2 separate regions of the Homo sapiens genome follow, and region 2 is linked to region 1. Evidence: promoter capture Hi-C in human tissues and cell types (Jung and others, 2019). All regions are on one chromosome and are shown on one strand. The core of a region is centred on a gene start or on the middle of the fragment in contact, and the rest is flanking DNA. Distances in the headings are between cores, read along the strand shown. Region 1 holds the start of AICDA (activation induced cytidine deaminase). Region 2 overlaps CLEC4E (C-type lectin domain family 4 member E).

Evidence for each region. The method cuts DNA at HindIII sites, captures the fragments that hold promoters and counts their contacts. A contact is called where the count stands out against the background at its distance.
Region 2: a contact is called between a fragment that was not itself captured here and the fragment with the promoter of AICDA in region 1, in 2 of the 25 tissues and cell types used here (aorta and liver).

What each region holds. Positions count from the first base shown.
Region 1 is chr12:8,611,350-8,614,677 of GRCh38, forward strand. It overlaps AICDA (activation induced cytidine deaminase), which reads right to left and starts at 1,510. Exons shown (of 5, transcript NM_020661.4): 1 at 1,411-1,510. The coding sequence starts at 1,418. The HindIII fragment of the contact is 12,992 bases long and covers 1-3,328 here.
Region 2 is chr12:8,536,434-8,539,717 of GRCh38, forward strand. CLEC4E (C-type lectin domain family 4 member E) reads right to left here. Exons shown (of 6, transcript NM_014358.4): 3 at 2,784-2,873; 4 at 682-833. Among named protein-coding and RNA genes, the nearest start is that of CLEC4E, 2.8 kb to the right of the region's middle. The HindIII fragment of the contact is 4,467 bases long and covers 1-3,284 here.

The DNA of each region.
Region 1 (3,328 bases), core at 260-2,759:
GGCTGACAGCTGCTCTGGACAGCTGTGCTCCCTGAGGCAGAACCCTAGCTGCATCCCCAGCCGTGCAAACCAGAAACAAGCGGGTTAAAAATAATCCTGACCAAGTCATTTTGCCATCACTAATGAGCTCTACAGATACTGTCCTCCTTAATGATAATATATTTCCCTTCTGTCCTGTTGAATTTCATCTTTTCTCCTTTTCTGTCTTTCTCTGAATTTCAACTGCTGATTTTACCTTTGCTTTCCATTTTACTTTGAACAAGTATTTCCAATGGACCCTTCACAAGGACCTATAGCTCAGACTTGTTTTCAAAATCTCAGTGTAAACTGAGGAGACATTTGACATTGTCTGACCTCAAGAAAATTTTCTGAAGAACATTAAATCCTCCATTAAAAATCTTTATTCTGTATATTGGATGTGATGGCTCATGTCTATAATTCCAGCACTTTAGGAGGCCCAGGCAGGAGGATCGCTTGGGCCAGGACTTAGAGACCAGCCTCGGCTGGGCTAAGACCCTGTCTCTACAAAAAAATATATTTTTAAAAAATCTTTATTCTGTAATGTAAGTTCTTTATAAAGGAGTTAAATTGAGGTAAAGTATAAGGATTAGGTGTTATTCTCATACATCCATAGTAATCATAAATGTAGGAATAGAATAAGTTCTATGACAATAACCTATCAAAAACTGCACATAAAGACATTATGAGGACCTTAACCAAATTCACACCTAAGAGGTAAGTTAAGCTACGTCTGAACAAATGGAAAGATTAGTTAATAGTAAAAGTGCCATTAACTGCCTAACAATTGGGCCTTTAACATTAAATAACTTGCTTGAATGAATTTGTCTCCTTATAATGGACACAATCATAGTGACTTTCAAGCAATTAATTTAGAATGCTTGGCATTTCTAAAATTACAAATTTTCTTACTATAGCTAAATTATTTCAGTAACGCCTCCCTAGGAAAGTGTGTCTTCAAGTTGTTTTACTGTTGAATATTTACAAAATTATTACGAAAATTAGCACTACCGTTTTTAGTACAGTACTGCTATTACCTTTTCATGATTTGAGTCTCTAAAGATTTGCTATGTTAATATTATTACCATAAATTAGTTTCAACCATGGTACAAATCTCAGGACGAATCAGTACATTGTACGCACTACTTCTTTTGCCACATGAAAAAGAGGGAAATCAAGAGAAGTCTGAAACAGAAAGAATTGGGCTGACAGCGTATAAGATCTGAATAGAAGAAAAGGAGACAGATCAAAAAATATATATGCATATTGATCAAGCTGATCTTATCAGTCAGACAGTTACATGAGAGAAAGGGATAGCTACCAGTCTCATTACTCAGATTTGCTCTGAGAGGAAGGCCAGTGCAATCACCCACGAGAAGACTGCCTCTTTACCTGTCCATAGTGGTGTCCAGAGTGTCTTCTTGCCTCCCTGCAAGTCTCAGGCCAGAAAAATCTCACTTCAATTAATGATGGTTCTCTGTCTTAGTCTGACAGTGCATTGGCCCTTCACATTCAAATTTGAGCTTGCCCTTTTGGGCTCCTCCCCTGACAGCATCACCCCCACCAGGTACCCCAACGGCCTTGCTCCTGATTTGGATCCAGTGAAGATGGGTGGGTGGGGCTGTCATAGGCAGAGTCACACAGGTTAAACCATTGAGGGCAGCTCTGCTTTAATGTTTAGGTTCCTTTGGGGCTGCTGCTCTAAAAGCCCAGTCCATGCTCCATAGCTAGCAAAGATCAGGAGGCAGTAACAGTAGACACTTCAATTATAATCATGATAACACAAAATAAAAGCACAATGAGAATAGTAATATTTATGTAAATACCTTAAAGAGCATTTAAATAGCTTCTTGGGTTATTGTGTTGAAGAGCCTCAGATAGCCTCTAATTCCCCCATATTCCCACAGTCTCTCTGAACCTCAGTACAGACAGGCACTAGCAGCTCCTGCTTTGCAGTTAAGCAAATGAACTCAGTTATATAGAATTTAGAACACAAAAATTTTGCCTCCCAAACCATGGATTTTTTTCTTTCTGATTGCATTACAAGAATTGCTTGAAGACTAGATATTTACACCAAAGAGTGATTTTTGCATGAGCCATCTTTTTTAGAAAAAAAAAAAATCCTTAATTTGGAGTCAGAAGCAGCAGCAGTCCCCCAAAATACAAAAATGCTTGTTTCACCAGACAGATTCAGTGTCTAACTGGCTGCACTGAATTTGGAAAACAGGCTAAGATCTTCAAATAAAAGACTTTAATTTTGTGCTCTCATAGAACTTGGTCTATTAAAGATTTTATTTCTCTCTCCTACTGTAGCCCATATGCATTCTATTTATTCACTGAGTAGATACTTCATGCCTACTGTTAATGGAAACTATGCCAGGTGCTAGGGATGCAATGCTAAGCAATGCAGCTAGGGTCTCTGCTCTCTTCCTGCCTCAAGCCTTTGATACCATCTATACCTTGATGATTTTCAAATCAATAGCCCTAGCTTGGACCATGTATTCGTCTGTTCTCACACTGCTAATAAAGACATGCCTGAGACTGGGTAATTTATAAAGGAAAGAGGTTTAGTTGACTCACAGTTCCACATGGCTGGGGAGGCCTCACAATCATGGCAGAAGAGCAAGGGACATCTTACATGGTGGTAGGCAAGAGAGAGCTCACGCAGGGGGAAATCCCTTTATAAAACCATCAGATCTTGTGAGACTTATTCACTATCATGAGAACAGCATGGGAAAGACCCACCCCCATTGTTCAACTACCTCCCACTGGGTCCCTCCCATGACATGTGGGAATTGTGGGAACTACAATTCAAGATGAGATTTGGGTGGGGACACAGGCAAATCTATCAGACCACTTCTTGAAACTCAAGACAAGTGTATCCAGCTTCCCTCTCAGAATCTCCATTTGGATGTCTGAGCACCTCCAGCCTGTCTAAAACAGAACCCCTGTTCTCTGCCTTACCTACTCTTCTTGCCGTCTTTCCCATCTCAATAAACAGCAGTATTCTTCCAATTGCTTGGCAAAACCTGGGCAGAGTGTCTCTCAGCTCCTCTCTTTCTTTTAAATTCCATGCACACTCCATTAGCAAATCCTGTTATCTCTGCTTCCAGAATATAGCCACAAACTGACCACTTCTCACTACCTCCAGGTCCAAGCAACCTGGATTATTGCATTTTGCTTCCCAACTGGCCTTCCTGCCTCCCCCTTCTTCGATTACAGTCTGTTCTCCACATGGCAACTAGAGTATTCCTTCTGGAATATTTAAGGTCATGTCACTCCCCTGTCATAACCCTCCATGGCTTCCCAT
Region 2 (3,284 bases), core at 288-2,787, 75 kb before region 1:
TGTAGTCCCAGCTACTTGGGAGGCTGAGGCAGGAGAATCGCTTGAACCTGGGAGGCAGAGGTTGCAGTGAGCCGAGATTGCGCCACTGCACTCCAGCCTGGGCAACACAGCAAGACTCCATCTCAAAAAGTAAAAAAGAATCTGGATGAGAAATAACAGATAAGTGAAACTGTAAGATCATGAGGATTATCTACTGATTTTTTTTTGTGGTAAAATATACATAACATAAAATTAAACTGAAAAAATAACCTTCAACAGAAAAGGAGATCCTCAATAATTCTTTCAAAGTTTATCTACTATTATTGGTGGCCAAATTTATTGAATATATCTAGCGCAAAATATTATTAATCACAGCTTAAAGAAAACGGACAATATTTGCTTCTCTTCTTTCATATAATATGTTCATAAACATAACGATTCGTCTAAAATTAACACTTCCAACCCTCTTTTTCCCCTTGCCTAACTAAAGGAACTCCACATGGAAATTCCCTTTTTCTTAGGTTCTTCTAGGAAGGAAAATAAATTAAGGTAGGCAGTGACTTTACCGAAATAGTAAGAACAGCATGCATTTTAGTACATTCATTAACAATAGTCATTGGGGGTCAAGCACTGTGCATATGTATGAAAAGAGAGGTGGACCATGTCGGGAATGTTACATTGGCATCGGAGGACTCCAGCTACCTGCTCCTCCTGTGAGTTGATAACCACCAGGTGAGCCCCCATGGCTGAGCAGTTCTTTAAACTTAACGCCCAGGAAATGGTGTCAGTAGAAAAGAAGTAGCAGCTGGATTGAAAATATTCCCAGTTCAATGGACAACAATTCTTGACTGAACCTAGGATGAGAGATGTTTCAGTGAGTGTCCCAGGTGAACCGAATAAGAAAACCCAAAGCTTCATCTGGCCCCATGGAGTCCTCATTTAAGTCAGAAGCCTTGGAATCACTTGTTCATACCCTACATCTTAGTATCTAAGACTTTAGATAATTCCAATGTCAAGAAACATAAACAGAATGTTTTTGGTCTTTTGAACGTAATTCTCATTCTCTGGATGTCAGTGCCAGGAAATGCAACTATATATGCAAACTATCTTAGTTATGCTATTGATATAGAACCTTATTATCTGTTCTTAGACTACTAATGTCAGAGAAATTTATGCATTTTATTTGGGTGACCCCCAAAGAGCCATCTCTTATGTTACCTAAACAATGTATCCTCAATCAAATCTCCATACTGTAGTATATAGATGGGTTAGATGTGGGCGGCAAGCCACCCAGGCGCTGAGGCAAGAGACAGAGGACACGAGCTGTTCCAGTATAATAAAATATAAAACAAGAATAGTTATACCAGATATAGATCTTAGATATGATTATATATGAATATCATTAATCATTAGTTTGTAGCAATTACTTTTTATTCCAATATTATAATAATCCTCGCTCTATAATCATAGCCAAGGAAAAACCAGGCCGTACAGAGCTACGAGCTGAGGGGACATAGTGAGGTGTGACCAGAAGACAAGAGTGCGAGCCTTCCGTTATGCCCGGACAGGGCCACCAGAGGGCTCCTTGGTCTAGCGGTGACGCCAGCGTCTGGGAAGACGCCCGTGGCCAGGCAGACAGACTGTGGTCTAGCGGTAGCGTTAAGTGTCAAGGGAAAACACCCGCTACTTAGCAGACAGGAAAAGGGAGTCTTCCTTTCCCTGGGGGAGTTTAGAGAAGACTCTGCTCCTCCACCTCTTGTGGAGGGCCTGACATTAGTCAGGCTTGCCCGCAGTTATCCGGAGGCCTAACCGTCTCCCTGTGATGCTGTGCTTCAGTGGTCACACTCCTAGTCTGCCTTCATGTTCCATCCTGTACACCTGGCTCTGCCTTCTAGATAGCAGTAGTAAATTAGCGAAAGTACTAATAGTCCCTGATATGCAGAAATAATAGCGTAAGCTGTCTTTCTCTCTGTCTCCTCTCCCTCTCTGCCTCGGCTGCCAGGCAGGGAAGGTCCCCCTGTCCAGTGGACACGTGACCCACATGACCTTACCTATCATTGGAGATGACTCACACTCTCTACCCTGCCCCTTTCACCTTGTATCCAATAAATAACAGCGCAGCCAGACATTCGGAGCCACTACCGGTCTCCGCGCATTGGTGGTAGTGGTCCCTTGGGCCCAGCTGCCTTTTCTTTTATCTCTTTGTCTTGTGTCTTTATTTCTACATGCTCTCGTCTCTGGACACAGGGAGAGACCCACCAACCCTGTGGGGCTGGTCCCTACAGTTAGATTTCTTAGAATTACAGAACTTTTGCCTTTGAGGTCTATTATAAATAATTCTTCTAACTTCTCTCAATTTAATGGTGAGAAAATTATAGCTCAGAGAAGGAAGTCACTTTTTTAGTGTCATGTAGCATTTTGCTAGGACTTGCAACAGGATGACATAGAAGAGCATAGAGAGTATATTTGTGAGATATTTATAAATTCTCTACTCCATACGTTTTTTCTCCATCTCATTTTGGAAGTAGGTGAATGAAAAAAAAGGTACACTCCTGGGAATAATACCTTCCACTTCCAGATTTACTGTTCAGACATACCCCTCAAATTTATTCTAAAAGTTTACTATAATGTCCCCAAGACTTTCTGCCCCAATGCTAATTGCATCACCAAATTTCTAGGATTTTACATTTTGCTTTTGAAAAATAAGACCTAATCCAGCTATATCTCACCTGTCCCAAAGTCAATCTAGAAGCCAGAAAATGTTGCTTTGTAAATTTTGATGTTCACCTTTGGGACTATTATACCTGATCCATAATTGTAGCAGGAGAGCTCTGTGAAATTCTCAGGTAGCTGAAACTTTTTCTCATCACAGGTTTGAAAGATGCGAAATGTCACTGTAAAAGAAAGGGCATAATGTTTGTTAGTCTTATTTCGGTTAAAAATGTCAGTTCCCTCAGTTTTGTATTTATAACAAAAGTGCCAATAATTATCATGTTTTTTCTTACAATCTGCTTTTTCTTACGACCCAGAGAAAATAGATATGTTTGCACTACCTCTTATGCCAAGTCCAACTCTCTCTACCCTTCCTTCCAAAAGTAATTAGTCATATCTCTGGTGCCGACCAGTAGTTCAAGCTCTAAGGCAGACTCTCCTAGAGAAGGTTACACTAATGATAGAGGCTGAAAGAGGAGGATTCAGGACTGCCAAGGAAGTGAAAAATGTCTATCATGAAAAGTAAGTCACAGGTGATTAAAATTCAGAAACAGTTCCCTGCTTGTTGAGGTTTCTGGTTTGAGAAATAACCT